5 separate regions of the Homo sapiens genome follow, and regions 2, 3, 4 and 5 are each linked to region 1. Evidence: promoter capture Hi-C in 16 types of primary human blood cells and fetal thymus (Javierre and others, 2016). All regions are on one chromosome and are shown on one strand. Each heading gives the region's core, a stretch centred on a gene start or on the middle of the fragment in contact. The rest is flanking DNA. Distances are from core to core; before and after follow the strand shown. Region 1 holds the start of ACVR1 (activin A receptor type 1). Region 2 has its middle 35 kb from the start of CYTIP. Region 3 overlaps CYTIP (cytohesin 1 interacting protein). Region 4 has its middle 67 kb from the start of CYTIP. Region 5 overlaps ACVR1C (activin A receptor type 1C).

Region 1 (2,863 bases), core at 122-2,621:
TGTGCCCCAGTTCAAAACAGTTTGTAAGTGGCAGAGCTGACACTTCAGCCAAGTGACAATGAGGGCCCTGTTACATCATTCTATAGAGCAGGGATACATATAGGTGCTCTTGCCTTGATTGGTACTGAACTTGCCTCTCCTGCTCCTCACCAATCATACAGGTACAAAGCTCTCTTTATGAAAAAAATGCTCCCACCTACTCCATCCTTTTGCTTACAGCTGGGGATTCTAGTTTTTTCACGTATATATGCCTTGTATTTCTAATTAGATTGTAAACTCCCAACCTGCAGGGACCAGATCTTCCATTTCCTTTGCAACCTTTTGCAGTACTGCAGTCACCCAATAAATGCCCTCTGCATGAATGAACCTGTAGAGATAAAAATACTTTATGGCATTCCCATTTATAGGTTTCATGTTTTTATTCTGCTTTGTGATAGGACTGTACATTATAAGCTTCTAGAGGGCAGAGAAAATGGCTTAGTGCTTTCCTTTACACTCAGCAGGAACCATGCAAAATTTGATCCTTGCATGCCTTTTTGATGCTCTGGGTAATATTAGCACACTGGGGTGTTTTTGTGTATCTAAGGACCGAGGTTATCAGACTCTCTGCAGCGGAGAATGTTCCTGCATTTCCACTGTAAGCTCCCATGGCGCCTAGGACAGGGCTAGATCACTGCAGAAGCCCCTCCATGCTTATTTCTGTTACTAAGGAAGCCAAAGGCGAACATGGCAAGCTCTGTCATAACCCTAGACCTTGCAAGGAAATGAGCAAAGTGGAAGGGGATCTGAAGGCAGGTCAGAGATGGCCTGGATGAGAATGCTAAGGCTTCTCTCTGAGAATCCAGCCCAAGTCTGACATGCAGGGCTCGAGTAGGTGGCCGCCCGCAGTCGCCGGGCCCGGGATGCCCGCCCGTCCGCCCGCCTGCCCCGCGCGCCCTCGGGAGCTGTCCAGACGGCCCCGCCCGCGCCTACCTGGGCACTCACCCGTGCCGCGCGGCCTCTTCTCCTCCCACCCCGGCCACAGGAGCCCAGCTCGGGCCTGCCCCGCCGCCTCCGAGGAGCCCCGCTGGCGGCGCGCTCATAGCTTCCACCCGGGCCAAGCGACCGGCCAGACAGCGCCAGGCGCGCCGGGGGCGGCGCGGTCAGGCTCGGCGGGGCTCGGCGGGCTCGCCCTCGGCCGGGCGCCTGCAGGGGGCGCGGGGACGGCCCCGCCCCGCCGCCTCCTCTCTCCCCTCCCGGCTCCCTGGATCCGCGCCGGGAGGAAATGATGTGTTGCTGCCTGGTTAATCACAGCTCCAGACACTCATTGGCCGAGCGCTCCGCAGCCACTTCCTCCTCCTCCTCCTCCCGCTCCTCCCGCTCCGGCTCCTGCTCTTTGCAGCCGCCGCCGCCGCCGCAGCCTCCCCCTCGGCGCAGGGGGAACTTTTCTACTCTCTGTGACGGTCTCCCCCGCCGCCCCCGGGGGCAAGCCCAGCTGGTCCGCCCGCCCCGCCCGCGGTCGTGCTCCCAGCCCGAGCCTCTGCGCCTCGGGAAGTTTATTCTGCCCGCCCTCCTCCCCTTCCTCCTCCTCTTCACCCCGCCTCCCCGCCCTCCCCCGGCTCTTTCCCCCGGGTGGCTGCCGCTGCCGCCGCTGCCGCTGCCAGCCTGCTCCTCGGCCAGCCGCGCCGGCCCCAGGGCCGGGAAGCTCCCGGCCCCACGCACCGCTCCGCTGCAGCCACCGCAGCCGCCGCCGCTCTGGGCCGGCCCTCGGCCCCCGGCTCCCGGCCCCGCAGAGTTCCGGGCTCCCTCGCCGGCTGCACCGCCCCGCCCCGCCCCGCGCCGCCCCGCGCCGCGCCGACCTGCAGCGCCCGGCTGCCTCGCACTCCGCCTCCCCCGGCTCAGCCCCCGGCCGCGGCGGGACCCGAGGTGAGCGCAGGTCGCCGGCCGCGCCTGCTGGAGCCGGGAGGACTGAGGGAGGAGGTAGCCTAGCGGGAGAAGAGGCAGGGATCGGGGGTGGCAGGGTGGGCGTCTGCGGTGCCTCCCCCTCGCTTTCATTCCTTTCTCCCCCAAGCTTGATCCCCTCTCCGTGGGGGAAGCAGCCGCGGAACAAAACTGTCTTGCTTTGGGCCTGAACTGCTGGTGGGATATGGGGGGTGGGGGGGCAGAGGCGTGGAGCGGGGGTCTCAGGTTTGTATTGGGGTGTGTGTGAGTGCGTGTGTGTGTGTGTGTGTGTTGTGAACTCCTTCAGGGTGTGCGACTCTGACTTGTAAATCGATCTGGCCGCGGGGCCACGGGGCTTACCTTCCTAGCTGAGCTTGTAGAGAGTAAGGAGATAGATAGGCGAATTTCCCCCACCCTCAAAATATCCATCTCTTCCAAGAGGAATTTTCTGCTGGAGAGACAGCCAATAAACTCTGCTCAACTCCCTCCCTCCCTCGGTTCTTCCTAGCTGCAGTTTCAAAAAGCTTCAAAGCCAGGAATGTGGGATTCATCTTCCGATCCCCAGAAGGCAAATGTGGTTACAGATGTTGCACGGTACTTTGCCAAGTTTAAAACCCTTCCTTCAACACTGTAACCAAAACAGTGAGGCTAGAACCTCGGGCGCACTAAGAAGAGATGTGGGCCTCTGGGGCCGCTGGATTCAGTAACTTCCGTCGGGTTCTAGACTGGCTCGGCTCTGTCCAGTTTGTGCCAGATAGTCTCCCACCCCCTCCCCACCCCTCCTTTCCCCTGGAGATTTGAACGCTGCTTGCATGGGAGAAAAGCTACTTAGAGAAGAAAACGTTCCACTTAGTAACAGAAGAAAAGTCTTGGTTAAAAAGTTGTCATGAATTTGGCTTTTGGAGAGAGGCAGCAAGGTAATACAATGGACTTGTCAATTTTA
Region 2 (2,863 bases), core at 211-2,710, 470 kb after region 1:
TCTGTAGATTCAGTGTAATCTCAATCAAAATTCTAGCAAGCTATTTTGTAGACATCAACAAATTAATTCTAAAGTTTATACGGAACGGCAAAAGACATATAATGGCCAAGAAAATACTGAAGAACAACAAAGTTGGAGGAATTACAATATCCTTTTAAAGACTTAATATAAAATATAGTCATCATTACAGCATGGTATTGGCAAAAGAATAGACAGATAAATCAGTGGAACAGAACAGAGTGCCTAGAAATAGACACACACAAATATAGTAATTATCTTTGACACAGAAGTAAAGTCAATTAAATGTAGAAAGGATAGTGTTTTCAACAAATGGTTCTGTCCAATATGCAAGCTCTTATATGTTTCACAAAAATTGACTCAAAATGGATCATAGACATAGGTATAAAACACAAAACTATAATACTTCTATAAGATAGCATAGGAGAAATTCTAGATTTCCTTTGGTGTCGTAATGAGTTTTTGGATACATCAAAAGGATGATTTATGAAAGAAAAAGTTGATACATTAGACTTTATAAAAATTAAAACTTCTGCTTTGTGAATGGCACTGTTCAGAGAATCAAAAGACAAGTCATAGGCTGTGAGAAAATATGGATATACAAACGGTTACATCTATAAGATGCAATATTATTCAGCTACAAAGAAATAATCTATCAAGTCATTAAAAGACACTATGAATCTTAAATGCATGTTGTTAGGTAAAAGAAACTAGTTTGAGAAGACTAATACTGTATGTTTCCATTTATATGACATGGTGGAAGAGGCAATACTATAGCAATAGTAAAGATATGAGTGGTTTTAAGGAGTTAGGGCTGGGAAGAAGGCATGGAGATGGTTGAATAGGAGGAAGACTGGTGAGTTTTATATAGTGATGAAACTCTTCTGTGCGATATTGTAATCTTGGATACATGACTCTGCATTTGCCAAAACCCATAGCACTTTACAGAATGAAGAGTTATCCTAAAAGCATGCAAATTATCAAAAAATCCACTTAGGTGGTTGGGGGATCCCAGGATAGAATGAAGAATGTGACAAAAACAATCTAACTGTATCAAAAATGTATAAAACAACTTAAGAGCGTGGAAAAAAAAGATGCTGAGCTAAGTAGCTCTGGAAATGATTGGAGTTTATAAAATGAAAGACAAAATAAAACACACAAAAACATTCTGCTCTAACAGAAAAACTTAACAGAAAAACTTGCTTTCCACATGAATACAATTAATAACTCTGACAGTGCTACATATGTATACTGCAATTGAAGAGTTAATAAATTCTTATGGCTGATAATGGGAGTCAGATTTCTTACTGTTGGATTCAAAGTTCACAGATAAGTAAGGGAGAATGCTAGATTAGACATCCGTATGCACTCAATATTAGCTTAATAAAAGTATGGATGATTACATACATAAATATTTATAGATATCTGTGTATGCATGAATTAGTTTATACACACTTATTTCCTTGCTCTGTCAGCTGAGAGGTCAAGGAAGTAATGACACTTTAGCAGCAATGAACACACATAGCACCAAGATCTTGGCTTCTAATACCATTCCCCAATAAAATAAACCAGAGTTACGTGGAGAAATGGCTTATTCTAGGTCTGGGGCAGGGAATGAACAAGAAGGGCCTGCAGCATCTTGTAATGTCAGAAAGTAATAAAATATTTTTAAAAAACCTTATAAAGATTGAGATATGTCAAAGGGAAATAGAAGTCAATCAGAAGGGCTCCTAATGGCCAAAGATGAAACACTTGGAGCAACAAATAAAACAGTATTAAATTATAACCCAAAATATAAAATAAGTATACATTCATGTGTCCATAGCGATATAAATAAATGACTGAGTAAATAATAAATGGAGTGAAGAGACAAACCTCCTGTATGGAAAAATTTCCCGTTACTTATGTAGATACTCCACCCTCAAGGAAGAGGAGCAGAACTCCTCATTCCTTAAGTGTGGGCTGAATATGATGACCTTTTTCCAAAGGGTATGGTATGGAAAAAGGGGAAAAGTAATTTAACAGTAGTGAAACCTGACAAACACTACTCCAGCCAGGTGATCGAGATCAACATCAATTGCCATAGGTTTATGTTGCTAATATGTGTCCTTGATATTATATAGTGAGAATGACACTTTGTCTCAGTGGTCCTCTTGCCCAGTACCCATAGCTTCAGTCTAATCATGAGAAAAACACCAAACAAATTCCAATTAAGAGATACTCTATAAAATATCCGCCAGCACTTCCCAAAACTGTCAAGATCATTAAAAATGAGTAGAGTGAGAGAATCTGTCATAGCCAAGAAAAGCCTAAGGAGACATGATGACTAAATAGAACATGGTATCCTGGAGAACAACCTGGAGCAGAAAAGGACACTAGGTAAAAAGGAATTCTGAATAAAGTTTAAACTTTAGTTAATAATGTGCCAATATTGGTTCAGTACTTGTAACAAATATACCATAATCACATTAGATGTGAATAATAGGAAACTGGGTACAAAGTATTTTTGCGCTCAGTCTCCCCTATTCACATCTAATATTGGGAACCCTGTGCTATCTTCACAATTTTTCTGTAAATATAAAATTGTTCTAAAAAATAAAGTTTACTAAAAAATAAGCACATTTTAATTAACTAAAAAGAGTAAAACGAATAAATAAAAACCACAGTGGAATAATAAAGTATTTGAATTAATTGAGAAAATTTAAATACTTTTTTAAATTTTATGTAAAATTTAACATAAAATGTAAACAAAATTTTATTTTAAAAACATTGGCCGACTTGGGCCGGGCGCAGTGGCTCACGTCTGTAATCCCAGCACTTTGGGAGGCCGAGGCGGGTGGATCAC
Region 3 (2,863 bases), core at 177-2,676, 450 kb after region 1:
AATGAAACAGATTCATATGGATTCCCACTATTTCTCAGAGAGTCAAGATCACCTTAAGGAGAAAACAGACAGTATATAGCTTGCTACCACCTGATTATTCCTGGCATGATGCTATTAGAAGTAGAAGACTGATCTCCACATTTAATGCTTTTACCATGCCTTGAAAAATTCCTTGCATCTTTATAGAGAGGTACAGCTTAATTACAAGAAGGAACTTGAACCAACACTTTAAAAATTGGTGTGTGATTCACAAATGAAATTTTTAAATCATATTCAGATTGATGGTTTAGTAGTCAAAATAAAAGCCTTTAACTTGAACACACAGAACAAATCAAATCACTCAGAATAGAACAAGTATTTTATTTTTAGAAATGTGTGTGGTGTGGGAAGAACAGAACACTGGTAAGTTGATAATTCTAGGATTAGAGTTTGTAAACTGAATGTTTTGAGATAAAGAATCATATGAAGGTTATTATGTCATAGTAGTTGTACTTCTGTTTCTTCTAGTACCAAAATTATAAGGAGATTTACAGAGGTAAAGGCTCCTAGAATCCTATGGAGGAAAGGATTTCTCCCTCTTTCAAGAAGTAGCATGTTAATTCCATGGTTGTGAAAGCCCCTAGAGCCTATTATTTCTGTTGTTGTGCCCCTTGTGTTCAGCATGGTTTCTAGAATCTGGTACATAGTAGATGCCCAATAAATATTTACCAAATGAGTGAGGTCATTCAGCCCATCCCCACAAGAACAGATTCTAGTAGAGAGCAGCCATCATTGTCACATAGTGACTTCTATAAAATAAGCTATAGTTTACAAATTAACTAGGATCCTTTCTTTTAGCCACCTTCTCAAGGGGAGTTTTCCCCCATTTTCTTTCTCTGTTATCAGAAGATTTGGCTTTGGTCCAGCTACTCGAAGTGCCATGAGAACTGTAACATTTGTATTTCGTTTTTAGTATAGTATGTGCTCAAAGTGTAGTACTCTGTAGTATGGTACTTATTTAAACGAATCACTCATGTTACTCACTCCCCACCTTCCTCTTCTTTTTTTTTTCCTTAAAACAGGATAGAGACTCTTAATGGAACAATGATTCTGAAAAGAACGGAGCTTGAAGCAAAGCTGCAGGTTTTAAAGGTAATTTAATTTAATGCAGTGAGGCACATTTTTCATCCTTGAATGTGTGAGTGGTAAAATAAAGATCTATTTGAGGAACTGAGATAGCCCTTGAAAAAGAAATGTCGTGGTGAATCTAAACTGCTGAATTATCAAGAGCCGCACAATTACCTTTGGAGGAATATCAAATTCTGCAAACCAGTGTAAATCACTTTCTTCCTTCCTCCTTCTGTGTGTCTATGAGGCTCAGAAAGGCAACAGGAAGGCATGCCACTTGAAGAACTCTTCATTAGTGCACCTGTGATCTCTATTGATTTACATTTTGTTTGGAATTAAAACAAAAAAGGTCATTATTTTCCCAAGTGTGTTGGAGGGCCTGGGTTTTTCACTTTTTCCGTGTCCTCTTTTGGTGTCCTTCTCTTCTGCCTCATCCTTAAAACGAAAACCTTATCCGTCTAATCCTGTGACTGTCCTTGAATCTGCTTTCATTGGCAAATACACTAGCAAATTCAAAGGAGGAAGAAATTAGCGTCCAAGAGATAGTAAATAATGCAGGAGGTCCATTGAAAATTCCCTGGGATGGTTTTTTGAGGCTTTTAAAAATCTCAGTTTTCTGGGCTGATGAGGGTCTCCTAAGCCATGAAGTCCAGACCCTCACTCATGCATCTGAGTCATAGTTCTAAAGACCTCTCTGTTTGTCTCAGTGACCTCTGCATCCCAATCTCCCCCTTGCAGAGCAACCAGGTAGCCAATCTGAGCAGAGATTGTAGTTTACTTTAAGCAGGTTGCTTACTTTGGCTTTATTTAGAAATAGCTGCCATTTGTTAGTTTTCTTCATGAAATATGAGCTTATTAATTATTGAGCCCAAGAGAGTGGATTTTATTTTGTATCTTTTTCTTCCTCCACATCCAACTCATCAACAAGTCTTGCTTTCTTTGTCAACATTGGTTTGGATACTCTTGCCACTGTGCTTATCTCTGTGCTTTGTTAAATCAATTTATAGAATTCCTTGAAAAAACCTCTGCTCAAATTTTGACAGGAATTGAATTGTATTTATGAAATAAATGAGAGCAATTAAAATCTTTATGGCTTTCACTTTTCTCACTTTGAATTCAGGATCTCAATCTTTTTATTCAGATCTTTTATGGACTTAAAAAATATTTTGTAATTATCTTCCTATATTTTTACATATCATTTATTATATTCATTCTTGTTTACTTCCTCATTGTTCTTGCTATATTAATCTTTTAATTTTCAGCCACTTATTGCTAATGATTTTGTTTAAATTTAAAAAATCCAGTTTTGTTGAACTCCCTTTATTCTAATAATAATTTTTATAGATTTCCTTATATTTTCTATATAGATTTCTTATCATTTGCAGATAATAAAATTTTTTGCCCCTTTAGCTCAATTATTGAAACTAATTTATTTTTCCTCTCCTATAGCATTGGCTAGGATCATCAATATACTGTAAATAATGGTAATCTTATGGTTGACTTTAAAGAAAACATTTCTAACATTTTTGTTGCTACATTTTTATGAGGGGTAAACAGTGGTTCATATTGTACTTGAATTTAAAGTTAATTTGTTTTTGCAAAAGAAAGATAATCTTAGTGAACATCTTTTTAAAAAAGTTTAACTTTTTCACCTTTTCTTAGAAAAAAGAAATATTGAAAACAAGAATGAAAAATAGGGCTATATTCTATGGAATAAAGTACTAACTTGCACAAATCATTATTTGATGCCTTTAAG
Region 4 (2,863 bases), core at 144-2,643, 370 kb after region 1:
GCTTTGTTATGATTAGTATTTGCATGGTATATATTTTTCCATACTTTAATATATATGGGTCTTATATTTATAGTAGATTTCTTGTAGATCGTGTACAGTTGGGTCTTACATTTTTCTCTAGTCTGACAACTTTTCACTTTTAAAAATTAGCGTGTGCAAGGAACAGAAAACCACACACCGCATGTTCTCATTCAGAAGCAAGAGTTGAACAATGAGAACACATGGACACAGGGAGGGGAACGACACACACCGGCGCCTGTCATGGCTTGCGGGGCGAGGGCAGGGAGAGCATCAGGACAAATAGCTAATGCATGCGGGACTTAAAACCTAGATGATGGGTTGATAGGTACAGCAAACCACCATGGCACATGTATACCTATGTAACAAACCTGCACATTCTGCACATGTATCCCTGAAACTTAAAGAAAAATAAAAAAAAATTGGAGTGTACAGACCATTTATAGTTAACATAATTATCAACATAATTAATTTTAATTTTATTACCTTACTATTTTTTCCACTTTGCTCATCTCCTTTTTTTTTTACTTTTTCTTGTTTTTGATTAGTTCATTATTTTTAATATTCCAATTTATTTTCTCTATGACTTATTAGTGATTTTGCTTTTTTTTAGGGTGTGTTTTATGATTTACAATATACATTTTTAACTTATCATAATCTACCTTCAAAAACTGTTATGCCACATTACATATAATAACAATCTTACAAAGTATTTTTAGTTTTCTCCCTCCTGTCCTTTTTATTTTGGTTGTCATACATTTTATTTCTGTATCTATTTAAATTTCACAATGTAGCGATGTAATTTTTTGCTTTAAACAGTCCATTTTAAATAAATTACATTGAAAATATTTTTAATATGAACATTTTTTTCTCATATTTACTATAGCTGATGCTTGTAACTTCTTTGTATAGATCTGAGTTTGGACTGATATTACTTTTTTCAGTCAGAAGATTATTTTTAATATTCCTTATAGAGCATGAAATTCTCTCAGCTTTTTTTAGTTTAAAAATACCTTCATTTTTGAAGGATATTTTCAGTGGACATAGAATTCTAAGCAGTTTTGGGGATTTTCTGGCTTATTTTTGTCAGCACATTAAATACATTGTTTTATCTTCTAATTTGCATTGTTTCTGACAAGGTCAGGAGTAATTCTCTTTCTCTGTTTGTATTGTAACTTTTTTTTTTTTTGCCATCTTAAGATTTTTTTTTTTTCTGAAAAACCATCTTAAGATGGGTTTTCAGAAATGTTATTATAATGGGCTTAGGTGTGCTTTTTGTTTGTTTTTATCCTACTTTTGTTCCACTGAACTTCTTGGATTTGTGTGTTTATGGTTTTCATTAAATCTGCAAAATTTCTGTGCACCACTATGTCTTCAGAGTTGTTTTTCTATTCCATGCACTATTTCCTCTATTCTAGGGTGCTTCAAATACATGTATATCAGACAACTTGATATTGTTCCATAGGTAACTGAGGTTCTCATTTTTCTGCAGCTTCTTTTTTTCTCTGTACTTCAATTTGATTCATTTCTATTGCTTATTTATTAAAGTTTATTACTCCTTTATTTTGCATTTTAAAATCTCCTAATATACCCTTCCAGTGAAGTTTTCATTTTGGATACTGTATTTCTTAGCCCTAGAAGTATCACTTGTCTCTTTTATATAGCTTCCATTTGTTTACTATTTCTATATTTGCTTTAGTGCTTGACCATATTTATAATAGCTATTTTCAAATCTTTGTCTTTCTCTGAGTCTGTTTTTTTAAAACTGCCCTTTCATTTATGAATTATATTTTTTCTCTTTGCATACCCAGTAATTTATTATTAGACACTGGACATTGTAAAGGTTACATTATTGAGTATCTGGATCTTATTGCCATCCTTTCAGGAGAGTTGAAGTTTGATTTGGAAGGCATCTAAGAGCACTGAAGAATAGTTTGCTCCTTTTAAGTGTTGTTTTTAAGTTTTGTAAGGGAAGGTCTAGAGTAGCTTTAACGCTAGGACTAGTTTAATCTTACTACAAAGGTGTAATCCTCCTGGATTTCAACTGAATGCCCCAGGTTTCAGTAAATTCTCTACATTCTTCTTGGTCAGTACACAGACATCTCCCAAACTCTGTGTGAACTCTGGGGATTGTTCTTTTTACTGCTTCTCAAAAATTGTTCTTTGCTTTGTTTCATGAAGGTTCTCCTAAGTAGGTACTACGTAGCATTTAGAAAAAGACTCAAGGGTACCTCACTGCAGAGTTTCAAAGTTGCTTCCTTGTGAAGCTCCCTCTGGTTCTGCAAATACCAGTTATCTTAGACTTGTCAAACTTCAATATCTGTCTCCTTCACTTAGCAAGACTGCCATGTGATAGCTTAGCTTGGTTCAGCCTTTCTCCTCACAATCTTTCAAGAAGTGCCTCTAGGAAAAGAAAGACCCTGGGCAATAGTGGGGCTCGGTGTTTCCCTTATTTTAGGGATTATAATCCTATGCTGCCACCTGTTGTTAAATGCCTGAGTTTTATTTTATATGTGTATATATATAGTTATATATATATATTTCACACGTATTTCACACATATATTTCACACATATGTTATACATATATATATGTTTCATTCATATGTATATATCTTTTTTTTCTCCTGATTTTTAGCTGTTTATGGCAGGAGGGCAATTTTAGTACCAGATAGCCTGTCATGGATGGAAGCAGAAGTCCCTGTTTTAATTTGTAAGATTTTTAATGTGTTATATTTTGTTTATTCAATTACTGATTTAAAAGCTTATTTATTCTATGGACTAGGTCTTTTGAGACTGAATCAAGTCAAGTGCAACAGAGTAATAAATGCCTAAAATAAAATTTT
Region 5 (2,863 bases), core at 242-2,741, 280 kb after region 1:
CTGAATTCTAACTAAATTGAGCCCTACAGCTGGAAGTTTAAGCAGTTCTCCTGGACAGAATCTCTGTTGGTAGGGTGGTTTCATTCCTTCTCAGCTCTAAGGGTGAGGCCTTCTTTAACAGGGAACGTAATTGCTACTTTGTGCAAAGGAACAGTTTTTCTTTGTGATGGATGTTTTCCCTTATTTGTGGAGTTCTGAATTTTTTTGGTTGCAGCCTGAGAAGTAGTATTTCTACCAGCTGAATCTTTATTGAAAGCTCATTTGGCCAAAAAAGTTTGCATTTATATTGCCCATATTTTATTAATGCTACTTTCTTTCTTTCTTTTTTCTGTTTTTCCTTACTGTTAAGAAAGGCAAATGCTTTGAAATGACCACATGACAAGAAAATAAAATTTTGACAAGGAATAGAAAAGGAAGCTAGATCTTTGCCCGATTTCCTTTGACCCTGTCTGGCTTTCCTTCAGATTTGCTAGTGCTAGTTTTCCTGGCTTCTTTCCTGCTGCTGTACTTTTCATATTCAGCACACTGAAAAGCTTGAATTGTTCCCTTTGTTAACTCAGAAGCCTGCAAATGATGAAAAGATTACATATTCAGCAGGTCAAATCTGAGACAGTTTTCTGAATTAAAAAAATATTTTGTGTTTCATAGCCTGGTCTAAAACTAGAGAAATTGAATAAACTAATGTCTGGAAAAGAAGAAAGAGTTTATGTCAGATGTTTATGTTAAGCACTGGTTAATTTTAGCATATAGACTCCAAACAAAGGAAACGTAGTAATATGTAACCAACATATTGAGAATACTGTCTAATTCAAAACACCTAATATTTGCCAAATAAATATTTGGCTTTCTAATAAGAATAGCACATAAATGCGGATCAACAAATTTGGTTCTTTTTTGTAGTCAGATGGTTTTTATATTTCTGGACACCAGGGTGTGCTAGCCATCACATGTAAATATGGATGAATATTTATTTTCTGGTTGGTTAGGAATGTGCACATCCTTTAGTTGATGTGGGTAACAGATGTCTTGTGGGTAACAGATGTCTTGCCTTTTAGAGACGAATTGGCAAAGAGTGGATAAAAGGGGATAATTAAAGGGGTAGGAGGAGACAAAAGCAAAGTACAATCTTCCTTGTGGTGAAAAATCTAATAAACCTCCTTATTATGGGTAATTGTTTTCCTTCTTCAACCTCATTTGCTGTCCCTTTCCATAGGACTCAAATACATTGTAATGGGAAAGTATAAAATAAACATGAGACAAGACTACTGCCTACTAACAACCAGATTTGTTCTGTCACAGAATATTGTAGTATAATTGACTCAATGAACATCAGTTTTTTTTGAAAGAGACAAAATATGAAATCATGTCTAATCACTAATGGCAACTTATATTGTAATTGGCAGCACAAAGGTTCTATGTTGAGGATGATTAATATAAATATAGTTGAATTATATGTCAAATGCAGTGATATAGTGGACTGGTGGGAAATGAAATATGAGAGGCTGAGTATGTCGTATGTTACTTATTCATCTTAGGTCCTATTTAGTTTGCTGTTTGTTCGCTGTCAGTCCTATCATACTGCCAGTTGAACTGGAATAAATGGGAACATGTAGCAGATGTTTGAAGCCATTATCATTAACAAATCCTCAATTTTGCCAGTGTTTTTCATCGTGCAAGATTTAAAGTAAGGTGTCACTTTCTGTCTTAACTATATCACCTATGTCTATATTATTCTTAAGATTTGTAACTTTTACTTTTAACCAGGATAAATTTTTATAGCTTGTGAAACATTCAGTGAGTATCCGCATAAATCCTTGGTAAGAACTATTATGTAATCATTTTTATAAGGAGCCAGTAGTGCTTCAAAGAGAAAGTATCAGATTATGTACTCAGAGCCTTACTTAATACAGAATTTAGATAAAGCTGTAAGGTGAGATTGTTTATTTTAGATGCAAGGCACATGATATTGAATTTTATTTGACTGCATGTCCCCTCAGAAAATAGGTAGGTAGAATTTGTTTCAAAAATACCAACTGTGTTTTAAAGGCTATTAGAATAATACAGATCAGAATCCTAGTTTTCAATTGTTAATTAGTTATCAGCTTCTTTCTGCTGTATTAGAATTCTATTTTATTCACAATTGCTAGAAATTTGTGGGGTGGGAGAATTGTTCACCTACCCATTTCTTTATGGCACCTTAGTCATGAAAGGTACCATTGCTTGAGTAGTCCAGAGACTGTTACGTAAGTCAGTCACTTTGTCTTTTTGAGCCTCATTTTGTTATGTATGAAATGGAGATAGTGACAACTAACTCCCACAGTTGCAGTGGGATTATATGAGATGACGAATGCATGTGAAACTAACATATATTTAATTGTTGAGTGCTTTATGATTGTCTTCACTCTGTGGATTCATATTCCTTAGTTAGTTGTGTCAGTTGCTAAGCTTTTCTTGGAAATAGAGCGTCCAAGGAGATTCTGATGAAATGTCTAGTGACAAATGGTTTGAGATTGTGTGTCAGAAGAGTTACTCTTTTTCCTGCCTTTAGCCCCTTAAAATATGCAAGTGAAGAATAACCATAGTGCAGCAAGTTTCTTAACATTAAATGAGTTTTCCTATTTTGTAATTGTAGATTTCCATAAGGTGTAAATAAGTAGGGTCATAAAATATTGGTGTTATGTAAGAGTTTAAGATTTTTGGACCCACTTTCCCTATGCTGTTCATTTTCTATTTTCAGAGGACAACACTGAGGCTCTGTAAGGTTAAATGTCTTCTCCAAAGTCAATCAGCAAGTTAGTGACAGAGTGAGGGCTGAGACCTTTGTCTTTTCCCAAATTCTTTGGCTGGACCATCACCAGATACT

The links. The method cuts DNA at HindIII sites, captures the fragments that hold promoters and counts their contacts. A CHiCAGO score of 5 or more calls a contact.
Region 2: a fragment that was not itself captured here is called in contact with the fragment with the promoter of ACVR1 in region 1 in 2 of 17 cell types (total CD4 T cells and fetal thymus); the score reaches 6.0 in total CD4 T cells.
Region 3: a contact is called between a fragment that was not itself captured here and the fragment with the promoter of ACVR1 in region 1, in 1 of 17 cell types (non-activated CD4 T cells). The highest score is 7.1, in non-activated CD4 T cells.
Region 4: a fragment that was not itself captured here is called in contact with the fragment with the promoter of ACVR1 in region 1 in 1 of 17 cell types (activated CD4 T cells); the score reaches 8.1 in activated CD4 T cells.
Region 5: a contact is called between a fragment that was not itself captured here and the fragment with the promoter of ACVR1 in region 1, in 1 of 17 cell types (non-activated CD4 T cells). The highest score is 5.0, in non-activated CD4 T cells.

What each region holds. Positions count from the first base shown.
Region 1 is chr2:157,874,838-157,877,700 of GRCh38, reverse strand. It overlaps ACVR1 (activin A receptor type 1), which reads left to right and starts at 1,371. Exons shown (of 11, transcript NM_001111067.4): 1 at 1,371-1,905. It overlaps LOC105373714 (a long non-coding RNA gene), which reads right to left and starts at 1,117. Exons shown (of 2, transcript XR_923518.3): 1 at 985-1,117. RefSeq lists silencers at 810-999, 1,020-1,259, 1,320-1,539, 1,550-1,599, 1,690-1,899 and an enhancer at 1,130-1,424. The HindIII fragment of the contact is 1,597 bases long and covers 456-2,052 here.
Region 2 is chr2:157,407,804-157,410,666 of GRCh38, reverse strand. No RefSeq gene overlaps it. Among named protein-coding and RNA genes, the nearest start is that of CYTIP, 35 kb to the left of the region's middle. The HindIII fragment of the contact is 6,019 bases long and covers 1-2,863 here.
Region 3 is chr2:157,425,619-157,428,481 of GRCh38, reverse strand. It overlaps CYTIP (cytohesin 1 interacting protein), which reads left to right. Exons shown (of 8, transcript NM_004288.5): 6 at 1,062-1,131. Among named protein-coding and RNA genes, the nearest start is that of CYTIP, 17 kb to the left of the region's middle. The HindIII fragment of the contact is 3,928 bases long and covers 1-2,863 here.
Region 4 is chr2:157,509,583-157,512,445 of GRCh38, reverse strand. No RefSeq gene overlaps it. Among named protein-coding and RNA genes, the nearest start is that of CYTIP, 67 kb to the right of the region's middle. The HindIII fragment of the contact is 2,780 bases long and covers 4-2,783 here.
Region 5 is chr2:157,591,267-157,594,129 of GRCh38, reverse strand. The region is part of intron 1 of ACVR1C (activin A receptor type 1C); the gene reads left to right. Among named protein-coding and RNA genes, the nearest start is that of ACVR1C, 36 kb to the left of the region's middle. The HindIII fragment of the contact is 1,912 bases long and covers 536-2,447 here.